3 separate regions of the Homo sapiens genome follow, and regions 1 and 3 are each linked to region 2. The links are contacts of gene promoters, found by promoter capture Hi-C in human tissues and cell types (Jung and others, 2019). All regions are on one chromosome and are shown on one strand. Each heading gives the region's core, a stretch centred on a gene start or on the middle of the fragment in contact. The rest is flanking DNA. Distances are from core to core; before and after follow the strand shown. Region 1 overlaps SKAP1 (src kinase associated phosphoprotein 1). Region 2 holds the start of HOXB13 (homeobox B13). Region 3 overlaps SKAP1 (src kinase associated phosphoprotein 1).

Region 1 (4,416 bases), core at 188-2,687, 480 kb after region 2:
GGTCTCCTACTTCTTTGGTAAATTGTGTGCATACTTGGAAGTGAAATGCACACAGTGAGTACACAGAGACTTTTGTAAAGTAAGTGAATTTGTGTATATGTATTAGGTATAGTGACACTTTTCTGCAGATGTGGAGGTATTTATTTATTGTGCACTAGAATTGATGGTTCAATTCAGATAGTTGGGTTAGAGAGAACTTTTGAGACTGCGAGAGGTATGAGTCAGGGGGATGGGAAAGGTTGTTTAATTTCCTTCTTTCTAACATTCATTCATACATTAATTCAACAAATATTTACTAAATGCCTTCTGGTTAAGACTGTTCTAAGCATTCCAGGGATAGACAGAGGTGTCAAAGGCACATGAGAGATGACGTGGGAGATAAGTTATGCACCCAAGTAACTGAAATTCAAGAGGCTGTGTGATAAGTACTGTAAGTACATAGCAGCTCCAAGGAGATCAGTCAGTTTAGATTAGAGTGATGAAAAAGACCAGCAGGATTGGGTGATTAACTCTCAGAGATCTCTGCACTGTTAGGAGACCTGAAATGTGGTCCAAGCTGTAGCTTGATGTCTTTGGGCAGATCACTTAATCTCTGCATGCCTTAGTAAAAGGAGAAATTAGATCATTTAGTCTCTAAAGCTCTTCCAGCTCTAGAACTCCATGAAGAACCGTATTTGAATCAGGCTTTGAAGGATGACTATAAAAATAAAAAATAAAATAAAGCTTTATGGTTTGAATGAGAGAACCTCTGCTATGCTATGATTTTAACAGGTAGAGATAGGGGAAGATAGAAGTGAGAATAGTGAACTCCAGGGCAACGGGGCTATACCCACAAAGGTGTAGGTGTGGGGAAATGTAGAATGTGTTCAGGAAACACCAAATAGTCCGGTCTAACAAGGGTTACTTAATTGTAGGAGGATGATGAGAGGAGACAGTAAAGGTAAACCAGCCTAATTTTTGGAAACCTTTGAATGCTAGTCTGAAGTATAATATTCAGCTTAATTAAAGATTTTTAAGAATATAACCAATATCCTTTGCTTTAGATACAGTACGGATAATGAAATTACCTAAGTCTTCCATTTTATATGTGTGTTAAAATGTACAGAGCCCCTACAATGTGCCAGGCTCTGTTCTAAGTGATTTATGTATTTTAATTTATAGCAACCCGTTGAGAAAGGCATTATTATTGTAAATTTTTGTGGGTTTTTTTGTTGTTTTTTGTTATTGTTGTTGTTGTTGTTTTGAGACGGAGTCTAGCTCTGTCACCCAGGCTGGAGTACAGTGGCACAATCTTGGGTCACTGCAACCTCTGCCTTCTGGGTTCAAGCGATTATCCTGCCTCAGCCTCTTGAGTAGCTGGGATTACAGGCATGCACCACTACACTGGCTAATTTTTATATTTTTAGTAGAGACAGGGTTTCACCCTGTTGGCCAGGCTGGTCTCGAACTCCTGACCTCCAGTGATCCACCCACCTTGACCTCCCAAAGTGTTGGGATTACAGGTGTGAGCCACCGCACCCGGCCTCTTATTGTACATTTTATAGATGAGGACATTGAAGCACAGAGAGGTTAAGTAACTTTCCCAAAGTCACACAGCTAGTAAAGTGTCAGAGCTGGAATTCAAACCCATTTGTTATAACTACCATAGAAAACTTATTATAGTAAGTGCTGTCTTCATTTTTCTCTCTTTAAAGTCACATGTTATCTAGAAGCACATGTAAAAATTGAAAGATTGAGTGAAATAAGCCAGTATGGATCAGTCGTTCTAAAGCATAATAAAGGCACTTTTAAACAATCCCTGTTGGAGCAAAAGTCTACTTCTCGTAATCAACAGCAACCTGTCACTATCGTAATTTTAAAAGACTTAACTATTTTGTCAGAATGTGTTCCTTAAAATGATGCTTTTACAAAAAGAAAAAAGAAAAAAAAATCAGATTGTGGGTTGTGTTTTAGAAAGACTACAGTCATTTTTGGTTGTAATCTTATATCCCAGAAATTCAAGAGGGGCAGCTGCTCCAGCCAAGTCAAGGAGGAAGATACCTACTATTTTCCAGGTTCCTACCATTTTAGATTCTATAATTTTGGAGCTGCCAGCAGTACTTCAGGCAGATGGTTTCCCAAGTGTAAAACTGTTCCCCAGGAAGGAAAGAGAGTCAGGTTACTCCTTCCTCATGAGCCAAAATTCTGAAAGTAAAGGGGTGTGTTCTTTCTCTAACCTTTGGCCTAAGCATGACTTTGTATTGAGTTACTACTCCTAGAAATCTTCTGTTTTCATTTTCTACGATTATGGTCCAGGTTTTAGACTCAGGAACAAATGGCAAGCATCCATGCATCATTTGGAGGTTCTAGAAGAAAGAATGAAAGCCCATGACACTATTCAGCTCTTTTATTTTGTTTGGATGTAAATATAAGTTTTAACTAATTATTTGACTCATTTTCCCTGTGAACGCATCTTCTTTTAAGTGGATCTCCATGCTTTTTGCTAGGCAGTTTGGTCATTTCTTAGTCTGGCCAAACCCTTTCTTTGAGGTTTCCAAGCTTCCTTTGGAATATTATAACTGTGTATCATCAGCAGAATTTTCAGTTTTCTTTCCCCCAACTATTTGTTAATGTTTGCTGAAAGGAACCTTTAACAGGAAGTAAACTTGCTTGGCATGGCCCAGCTGTGAGTGAAGCTTGAGTGAGAGGTATTTATGACCTGACAGGAAGATAAAGATAAAGATAAAGATGAAGCTGACTTGGTGGCTGTTAGCAAGGGGAGAAGGAAATGTTTATGACCCCATCTGCTGGCGTTTCAATAGGATAGAACTGCCTTTATGGCGTCAATCTCCCCTGTGACTTCCTTCCATTTGGGGAGTGTTATCTTATTTCAAGATGTTCCCACCGAACACACTGTTGTCCCCTTTGTTTAGGGGCAAAGGAGGAAGGAAGGACTTTGTTACTGGAATGTGGGGATGGGGCAGTATTTATGGTTATGACTCAAGCTGGAGAAAAGGCTTCATTGGAGTTGACTGTATAGTCCAGGAAAGCTGCCATGCATTCTGCTACTTCCTTAAACATTATCCACACTGAAAGCAGAACCACATTAGCTCTGGTCATTATCAGGCATTAAGGCTAACCATTTTCTAACATTATTATAAGTAGAATTAGTGTAGCTTGATTTCATTGCACACTGTGGGGAAAATAATTTTATTCTCTTAGTTCCTTGTTTCTTGTCTTTTATTTAACATCTCTTCTTTTTCTTCTCCTGAACTTTTTTCTTTCTTTTTCTTAGAGGAGGAGACATTTAAAACCAACAGGTGCCATATCTGCTTAGTTCAAAATCTATGTACATGTAACAAAAGCAGAATGAAATGATTCCTTTCTTAATGCTAGCCCAGGTTAAGAGTCTGCAGATAGGTTGATAGTCCTTTGTGAGGTAATACATTTTTAAAGTGCCAAAAATGTAGGAATATTTTTAGAATACAATAGCTTATGCATCACTGAAGCCTGTTTTATATATATATTAATAGCATTCATTGTACTGCAAAACAAGTACTTATTCCTCGGTTTTATTTGCGCTTCCTCCAGGCCCATTAGTACAGATTAAATTTTTTATATTGATGCTCAAACAATCAGCACAATATATGTAAATCAGGGACTTTAAGTTCTTTGGCACTATTCGTATGGATATATGTTACCATGTTCAACATGGCCTTTTTTTCCCCTTTGCAAAAACAGGATTTTGTTCCTTTTTAGTGTGAAGATCCTATTTCCAAAAGATGAACTGTTTGACAAATTACACATGCAAAAAGCTCAAAACCACAAAGAGAACAACTTTCTTATTGCCATTGGGTTTGTCTGATTTATAGAACAAAGGGAAGAAGTTTTGTTTTGGGGGTAAAATACCCAATCATGGGCTTATTATATCTCTTTAAAGTCCTATTTTTATTTTTACTAGGGGAAGTCAGGGAATTTGAAAGGGCAGGGAGGGAGATGGCTTGCTCAAGCATTTTTCACCAGAGAATTCCACAGTAATATTTGTTTTAAATGGGAGAGTCCTGTAGTTAAGTTGAGAAATTAGTTATAATGTTTGTATCTGATTACCTAAAGACTGGAAGGTAATAGTGTGTGACGAGTTACATTTTACATCACAGTCCAGGTATAGTCAATTTGCAAAATGGAAATATTGTGGTGGCAATGTTCCTTCGAAGAGTTAGAGCTATCACAGAAATAAAACTTCATATAAGCATTTATTGTTATAATGCCAAGAGTTGATTCTTGATTTTTACAGAACTTTCTCCAAAAAATATTCTACCATTCCTTTTACAGTACAGGCTCAAGTCTTGGCATATTCAATAGACTAGCCAATCCAATTCTAACCGTTTTTATTCAGTGTGGTTCCTGAGAATAATTTGATAGACCTACTAGGGGAGA
Region 2 (4,668 bases), core at 2,043-4,542:
AGCTGGTGACCTTCACTCCCGCCAAGTTTAAGTTAACCATCTCTGCATTCCACAACACTGCAGTTACATGCACTTGGCTACTTATTTCAATGAACATGGATAAGAATGCTATACATCCAAAAGCACAGTTTCAGGAAGTGTTGCAATGAATTAAAAAAATTTTTGTTTTTAATTATTTTCCTTAACATTTGAGATATAGCTGATATGCAATAAAGTGCAGAAATACCAAGTGTATAGCTTGATGAATTTTCACAGTGAACAAAGTCTTGTAACTAGCAGACAGATTGAGATGGAGACTATTTCCAGCACCCCAGAAGGCTTCTTTATGTCCTTTTCCAGTCAGGAGACCTCTCCCCATGCCAATCTCTATTCTGACCTCTATCACTATACCATAATTTTGCTTGTCATTGAACTGCATAGAAATGTAGAAACTGAATCATACAAAAGTTACTCTTTTGTGTCTGGCTTCTTTCATCCACATATCTGTGATTCATCAATGTTGTGTGTAGTAGTGGTTTATTCTTTTTCAAATGGCTGTGTAGTACTTCATTGTATAATTATACTGTGCTTTCTTTATTCATGCTACTGCTGATAGACTTTTGGGTTGTTTCTAGTTTTGAGCTACTATATTTTGATTTCATTATGAGATGGGGTATCCCTATTATCCCTATTACCCCTGTTGCCCAGGCTGGTTTTTTTTTTTTTTTTTTTTTTTTTTTTTTTTTTTGAGATGGAGTCTTGCTCTGTCACCCAGGCTGGAGTGCAGTGGCACGATCTCGGCTCACTGCAAACTCTGCCTTCCAAATTCAAGCGATTCTCCTGCCTCAGCCTCCTGAGTAGCTGGGGTTATAGGTGTCCACCACCACAATTGGCTTTTTTTTTTTTTTTTTTTGTAGTTTTAGTATAGAGAGAGTTTCACCATGTTAGCCAGTCTGGTCTCGAACTCCTGACCTCAAGTGATCCACCTGCCTTGGCCTCCCAAAGTGCTGGGATTACAGACCTGAGCCACTGTGCCTGGCCCCAGGCTAGTCTTGAACACCGGGGCTCAAGCGATCTTCCCACCTCCACTAGGATTAGTAGCTAGGATTACAGGCGTGCGCTGCCATGGGTGGCTTTGAGCAACTACAGATAAAGCTGCTGTGGACCTACTAGTACATGACTTTTGATGGATATAAAGGTTCATTTCTGTTGGGTTTATGCCCAGGAATGGAATTGCTGGGTCATAGGGCATGACTATGACTATTATTATTTTTTAAATTTAGGGATCTATTAATGCCTCTACTGTACAAGGATGAATAAATGTGCATGTGTGGGTGTTTGCCTAGTGGAAACTAAAACTGTGGACATGCCCTACATATCTATCATCTACCAAGTAAAAATTGGTGAAAAATTCTTAGTCTTTAGGTAAAAGTCTGGATATTTCTGCAGTTCATAATTAGACAAGCAAGAAACTCTGGTGAGAAACTGGAAAGCACTGAAGAGACATCTCCTCCCTTTTCTTCCATATTGTTTTCAAATGCGATCTAGTGAAGATTTCGTGCTTGGTGTCTTCAATTATAGCAATGCTCATTAGGAGTGATGTACACTACTGCCTGTGGGCCCTTTCCCACAAAGTGGCTCAAGTTCAAGGTCAGGTTGGTGAGAGGCTATGATTGAGTCTGCCCAGAGTTTAGGGTAAGCCATTCCATATAATTGTCAAGACCCTCGTGTAGAATGGAAACATTCCTGTCTTCTCCAGAAAAACTGGGAGTTCTAGAAAAAGCAGACAGAAGGATTTGATTTGGGAGGGGTAGTAAAGGAAGCGGAAAACCTCTAAAGACAGATTTGTGAAACAAACCGTTTGATTCTTCTGAATTGCACTGCACATTAGGCCCCAACAGAGGGGCCTCAAGCAATTCTGCCAGTGGCTGGGGTTTCCCCTTCCATTCCCTTTTCCTTGTAAGGAAGTTTAAAGCTTGCAGGAGGCAGATAGGGGTCTTGGGCTTTCTGGGTACTCAGCTTGTGTGGGAGTATGCCAGTATCAGGGACAGTTTCCTGGGCCCCTTGCAGACCATAGGGAGAGGACTGCAGGGCAGGGAGACTGGCATCTCCACACAGGCGTCTGTATTCTTGGGGTCCAGAACTCCCGCAGCTGGTTTCTGGCAGTCAGCCAGGCTTGGCTTCCTCAGACTTCTTTAGATCCCAAAAAAGGGGGAAAGTGCCTCTCTTCTTTCTCTTTTCTGACTGACACTTCAGGATTTTACAAGATTTTGTCCCATCCGCTCTGTCAGCTTCTCTCTTTCCCTCTTTGTGTTGCTGTCCCTGAGTCTCATCTCTCCCTCTCCCCGTCCCTCCCTCAAGTCCTGTGGGTCTCCGTCCCTCCGTATGTCTTTACTTAAAGGGAAATCCAGACCCTTCCACAGGCCACTCTAGAGGCTCCATTTCCCCTTCAGGTCCGGAAGTGGAGTGTCCTGGGTTCCATCCAGATCGCATGTCTTCTACGTCTACGTTCGTGTCTCCCGCCTCTTCCCTCAGCCTCACCCGAATCAGGGCCTCCAGAGCATTCTGGGCAGTAGCGAGTCCCTGGGTAAGGGGCGTCCAGGGCACCTCCCTGGGGCCCGGAGCAGCTCATTCCAGGACATCTGGGACAGGAAGGGTACCGGGAATGAACTGGGGTGCTAGTACCCAGGACCCAAAGCCAGGGGCTGCCAGAAATACCTATTAACCCCCATTTCCCAGCCTCCTCTTACACAGGCGCATTCCCGGGTTCTCCTCTGAGGCCGGGAGCGGCCTCCCAGCCCCACCCCCGACTCCCCTTCCCCCCCAGGAGATGGACACTTTATAGAGAGAGCTTTTTATTCTCTCGTTAAACCTGTCAAAGCGCAGGAGACAGAAAGCTAGGGAGGGAGAGGAGGAGAAGGAGGTGGGGCCCGGCTCCTCGTCCCCTCTTCCTCCGCCCACCACGCCTCCCCTCCCCCCGGACGTGTAAATGAGACTCTGCAAACTGGAAAGCAGCGAAAGGACACCTCCTTCCTTTTCTCTCTTGTTGTTTTTAAGTGGAATGAGAGAGAGAGGAGTGGAGAGGGAAAAGAAGAGAGAGAGGGAGAAGAGAGAGAGGAGAGAAAGAGCGAGAGAGCGAGAGAGAGAGACAGAGACAGAGAGAGAGAGAGAGAGAGAGAGAGAGAGAAAGAGAGAGAGAGAGAGAGAGAATAAGCTGGGGTAAAGTATTTTCGCAGTTTCTGCCTTTAGGATTTTATTAGCTTCTCTCCCCCAGGCCGCAGCCAATCAGCGCGCGTGCCCGGGCCCCTGCGTCTCTTGCGTCAAGACGGCCGTGCTGAGCGAATGCAGGCGACTTGCGAGCTGGGAGCGATTTAAAACGCTTTGGATTCCCCCGGCCTGGGTGGGGAGAGCGAGCTGGGTGCCCCCTAGATTCCCCGCCCCCGCACCTCATGAGCCGACCCTCGGCTCCATGGAGCCCGGCAATTATGCCACCTTGGATGGAGCCAAGGATATCGAAGGCTTGCTGGGAGCGGGAGGGGGGCGGAATCTGGTCGCCCACTCCCCTCTGACCAGCCACCCAGCGGCGCCTACGCTGATGCCTGCTGTCAACTATGCCCCCTTGGATCTGCCAGGCTCGGCGGAGCCGCCAAAGCAATGCCACCCATGCCCTGGGGTGCCCCAGGGGACGTCCCCAGCTCCCGTGCCTTATGGTTACTTTGGAGGCGGGTACTACTCCTGCCGAGTGTCCCGGAGCTCGCTGAAACCCTGTGCCCAGGCAGCCACCCTGGCCGCGTACCCCGCGGAGACTCCCACGGCCGGGGAAGAGTACCCCAGCCGCCCCACTGAGTTTGCCTTCTATCCGGGATATCCGGGAACCTACCAGCCTATGGCCAGTTACCTGGACGTGTCTGTGGTGCAGACTCTGGGTGCTCCTGGAGAACCGCGACATGACTCCCTGTTGCCTGTGGACAGTTACCAGTCTTGGGCTCTCGCTGGTGGCTGGAACAGCCAGATGTGTTGCCAGGGAGAACAGAACCCACCAGGTCCCTTTTGGAAGGCAGCATTTGCAGGTACCTCTATTACCCTGGGTCCCCTTGTCTCTGAGCCTGGGGTTGTGGGTCCCAATGGCATTTCCCTGGGAGGAGGAGGAGGGAGACTTGGAGCTGGTGAGGATGAGCTTGGTGCTCCTCCCTTGGTTATTAGGACTCTGAAGGAGGTCTGAGTAGCTGGAGGGCCTGGATGGAGGTCAGTGTGAGGGGCCTGAGCTGGGTGCTATCTGAAGCCTGAAGGCCACCTCACTTCTCCAGGAGGCCCTGGGACCAGCCTTTCAACATGTCTGAGAGGTTTAGATCTCTTTGCTGTTGAGTGGGGATCAGGGTGTCCCTACCCAGCACAATTCCAAACTAATTCTACACAAAAGCTAAATAACTCTCAATTCGGTGCGTGGGGAGTGGGTGTGGGAGATGGGTAAAAAGGTATTGGATGTACTGTAGAGAATACAACCTCTCACTTTCTATTAGATGAGTTTTCCAATTTCCAAAGAAAAATTTAGGTTTCCTGCAGCCGTGACATATGTGTGTGCACTGGGATGGGTTAATGTGTGTGTGTGTGTGTGTATGCGCATGTATTGGGAGTGGGGGCAGAAACGTGTTTCCAGAATTTGCCTGTAGAATCTAAAAGAGTGGCCAA
Region 3 (4,365 bases), core at 1,805-4,304, 510 kb after region 2:
TTGCTTGAACCTGGGAGGTGGAGGTTGCAGTGAGCTGAGATTGTGCCACTGCAATCCAGCCTGGGTGACAGAGCAACACTCCATCTCGGGAAAAAAATATATATATAATTCTTCTATATGCATCTCCTATTTTAGCTATGTACATTTTTCAGCTACAAAAGCAAAGCAAAACAAAACAAACAAAAAAACCCAAGTCAGTTCATCAATATCTCTTGAATACAGTTTTTCTTAGAGACAGAAAGAGTGTAGGAGTATGAAGGAAGAGTAATTAATGGAAAGAAAACTTCTAGAAAATCCTAGATGATAGCTAAAACTATTATTGATTTGTATTAGCGTGAGGAACCCTTTTTGTCATATTTGCCTAGGGTTTCCTTTAGACCAAGCTCTTTTTACCTCAGCTCCCTACGCTTAGGCTCTTTGTGGTTCCCTCTACTTCTCAAAGCCTGTAGCTAACTGTAGCAACTTAATTTCTGAGAGAGTGGTAAGAGTTCCAAGTTACCCCTTAGACATTTCTGGCACCACCAACCACCATTGTTGTGGTTGACTGGGCTTATTATAATAATAATTCTTTACATTTACATACCATATTTCATCACAGAATCACTACAAATTATAGATGTTAACCAATTGGGCTTTCTCCCTCCTTTATCATCAGGAGGAGTGGGCAACAGAGACGTCTAGACAGAGAAACTGAGTTAGGGATATTTCAGTATTGATAAGTGAGTTTAGGGCAAGAGCCCTTAAAACATGCAGTGCTCTCTGTGAAGGGCAGATTTTTAAATTACGCCACCATCCCACTGTTGAACTGGAGAACAGAACTGAAAGAGACTGCAGGCAACCTTGTGGATTTCTTAAAGATACTCGGCAATTCTGATCCCACAATTATTTAACTTCTTGAAATTGCTCCTGTTTTAATTTAAGTCAATTTCTCTTGCGGCACGAACAGAATTAGCTGGTTAGTAACCTCCTTATAAAACATTTGATATAATGCACTATACAGTACTTGAAGGTTTAAACCAAAACACCATTTAGCCTTATGAGCTCCAGGCTAGGAAATACAAATTCTTTTAGCCATGCCTATGTAATTTCTCTAGGATTTTTAAAAAGTAATTCTGTAGCAAACTTTACTCAAGGAGAAACTGTTTTAGTCATTCTTCCTTTGTTTCCTAGTGTTTCAGAAGTTGACAAAGGCATTAGTTAGTAACAAACTACTTTGATAGTTTTTTGTCAACTTTTTTATTGCAATACATCATATATACAGAAAAATGCGCAAATCATAAATGTAGAACTCAATGATTTATTTATTTATTTATTTATTGAGACAGAGTCTCACTCTGTCACCCAGGCTGGAGTGCAGTGGTGCAATCTTGGCTCACTGCAACCTCCACCTCCCAGGTTCAAGCGCTTCTCCTGCCTCAGCCTCCTGAGTAGCTGGGATTACAGATGTGCATCACCATGCCCAGCTAATTTTTATATTTTTAGTAGAGACGCGGTTTCACCATATTTGTCAGTCTGGTCTGGAAGTCCTGACCTCGTTATCCGCCTGCCTTGGCCTCCGAAAGTACTGGGATTACAGGCGTGAGCCACCGTGCCCACCCTGGTGATTTTTTTTAACAAAGTGAACACACTTATGTAAGCCCTACCCACATCAAGATATAGAACATTACCAGCACCCCTAAAGCTTCTCTTTCTTTTTTTTTTCTTTTCTTTTTTTTTTTTTTTTTTTTTTTTTGAGATGGAGTCTCGCTCTGTCACCCAGGCTGGAGTGCAGTGGCGCAATCTGGGCTTATTGCAACCTCCACCTCCTGGGTTCAAGCGATTCTTGTGCCTCAGCCTCCCAAGTAGCTGGGATTACAGGCATGTGCAACCACGCCCGGCTTTTGTATTTTCAGTAGAAACAGGGTTCCACCATGTTGGCCATGCTGGTCTCAAACTCCTGACCTCAAGTGATCCTTCCACCTCAGCCTCCCAAAGTGCTGGGATTACAGGCGTGAGCCACTGCACCTGGCCTGAAACTTCTCTTTATGCCCCGTCCCAGTTATCTCCACCAAAATAACTACTATTCTGACTTCTATCACCAGATTAATTTTGCCTATACTTGAACTTCATATGAACAGATTCATACTATATATACTTTTGTGTGTCTGGACTCTTTCATTTAGCATTATATTTGTGAGGATTGTCCGTGTTTTTGCATGTAGCAAAACACATGTAGTTCCTTTGTTCTCATTACTATATAGTATTTCCTTTATTCATTTTATTTCATTCTATGGTAGGTAAACGTATGGTTTTTTTCTGCTTTGGAAATATTGTAAATAATGCTGTTGTGAACAATCTTATATCAGACTTTTGGAGCACCACTATGTTGGCATTTCTGTTTGGTATATAGCTAGGAGAGGAATTGCTGAATTAGAGGGTATGTGCGTATTCCGCTTTAGGAGATTCTACCAAACATTTTTCCAACAGACTTGTACCATTTTTACTCCCACCAACAATGTGTGAAAATTCCAGTTGCTCCTCATTCTCACTGATACTTGGTATTGTCAGTGTTTCTTAATTTTAGCAATTCTGGTGGGTGGCTGTAGTAGTTTCTTCAATTGAAATAAACCAGCTGCCTGGAGGGATTAGGTCTCTGAAAATATCCTTTTTTCCTGCTTCCATTGTACATTTGCCAGTGGATCACAGGAACATCTCCTCTGTGAGGAACAAAGTGGTAGCCTAGCCCTCATTTGCATGACTTTGAACTGTTATCTGTGGCTGCTGTAGCTTCTAGCCAGAGCAGACTGGGAGACACCGTGTGCAGCCAGATAACCTTTTCTTGTTCATTAAGGGCCCACTTAGCTCTCCATGGGGGTGCAGCAGACAGCCTAGAAAAGCAGGTAATGACTTTATGACTATATAATGCTAATTTCATCAATAATAATTCTAAGAGGAAAAAACCCAGAATTTAAATAACTGGGTTATGGTACCAACACACAAAAGTATGAAAGTCAGGTTGAGGACAGCTGTACTTGTTTTTGCAACTAACATTAACTGACATGACCCTATTCTCCATAATATGTATTCAGAGAGACTTTTAAACTGGATGCTGAAATCTAGAGGGGGAAGGGTTTAATTGCCTTGAAGTGTTTTGAAAATACTAACCAATAAACAGTCATATTAGAAATAGGCAGAACTGGTGCTTTATTTGAGGCTGGACATATAAGAGTTTCAAAAAGGTTTGTGGATGATAATTCCTCTCCTTTTGTCAGCAAGAAGTTCAAGTTCAGTGGCCAGTTTTTTTGCCAATGAGAAGTGAATAGTACAACTGACTTTTAAAATCAAATGTCACATTCCACATGGTTCCCACCTGGGTTTTAGTTTCTCAACAATGGAATACAATTTTCAATAAATCTAGAGATAAAAATTCTGCCCAAGTAACCTCATTAATATTGAGGGGACTCTTCTCTATTGGAAATCTGTGTGTTTTGTTCAAAAAATTGGAAGCAAAGAACTCTTTCAGGTTAATTCTAGAGATTCCAAAATTAAACATATACTATTAGATAAATACTAATAGGAAATTAGGTTGTTATATTTTTTCTATTTCTCTTTCTTAATCTGCCTTTCTCTTTATTCCCACTGTAAAATGTGTGCATGTTTATTCCTTTCTACTCTTCATGTTCTGATTTCACATGGCCACCCCATGAGGGTTTTTTTTTTAACAATCTGAAACCCCCAAAATATTGAATTATTATGGAAACAAGGTGCAGTATTTCAAGCATCACCCTACAATAGAAGTAACAGGATAATGATTTTCTTTCTCAGTTCAGATATTAGAGGCCCAAGTATTGATTGCCTGTTTCTTTTGCCTCCTGTGCTCTGATGAAACTACACTTTTGACACAAAGTCACAATAAAATGTGCCCTTTCCAGTATGAGATCTCTGTAAATGTCATTCACACAGTCATTGTTTTCTAATTCTTTGCATTTTCATCAGAGTAGCACACAAGCTCTTCGTTGAGTGGAGACAGAGCAAGCAGTGTTTAAATTTAGAATTCACTAGAACAACCAAGTTCCATTATTTTGCTAAGGACAGTTACAGTCTAATAATAGGACTCCTTTTCCATAGTGTTTATGAAATTATTATTCTTAGAATTGATTAAGTGATGAGGACTTTGATAACTAGAGGTTTCATGAAATGCTGTTGGGAATATTGATGTTGGGTTTGCCAGGCAAAGAGAGGTTGTAAAATCAGTGTGAATGTCAGTGTTTATGGATGAGAAGGGTTGGTTGGTAACATAAGCTGAAGCCAAGCTGGAGACCTAGAGGAAATGGCTGCTTCCCTAACCCAACTCTGCCAGCTAGTCTTCCTCCTGACCTGCAACAT

What was found. The method cuts DNA at HindIII sites, captures the fragments that hold promoters and counts their contacts. A contact is called where the count stands out against the background at its distance.
Region 1: a fragment that was not itself captured here is called in contact with the fragment with the promoter of HOXB13 in region 2 in 1 of the 25 tissues and cell types used here (IMR-90 fibroblasts).
Region 3: a contact is called between a fragment that was not itself captured here and the fragment with the promoter of HOXB13 in region 2, in 2 of the 25 tissues and cell types used here (pancreas and thymus).

The regions. Positions count from the first base shown.
Region 1 is chr17:48,242,802-48,247,217 of GRCh38, reverse strand. All of the region lies in intron 4 of SKAP1 (src kinase associated phosphoprotein 1), which reads left to right. Among named protein-coding and RNA genes, the nearest start is that of SKAP1-AS2, 49 kb to the left of the region's middle. The HindIII fragment of the contact is 4,898 bases long and covers 1-3,886 here.
Region 2 is chr17:48,727,374-48,732,041 of GRCh38, reverse strand. HOXB13 (homeobox B13) reads left to right here and starts at 3,292. Exons shown (of 2, transcript NM_006361.6): 1 at 3,292-4,049. The coding sequence starts at 3,449. The HindIII fragment of the contact is 5,391 bases long and covers 1-3,807 here.
Region 3 is chr17:48,218,220-48,222,584 of GRCh38, reverse strand. All of the region lies in intron 4 of SKAP1 (src kinase associated phosphoprotein 1), which reads left to right. Among named protein-coding and RNA genes, the nearest start is that of MIR1203, 64 kb to the right of the region's middle. RefSeq lists an enhancer at 2,406-3,248. The HindIII fragment of the contact is 4,962 bases long and covers 574-4,365 here.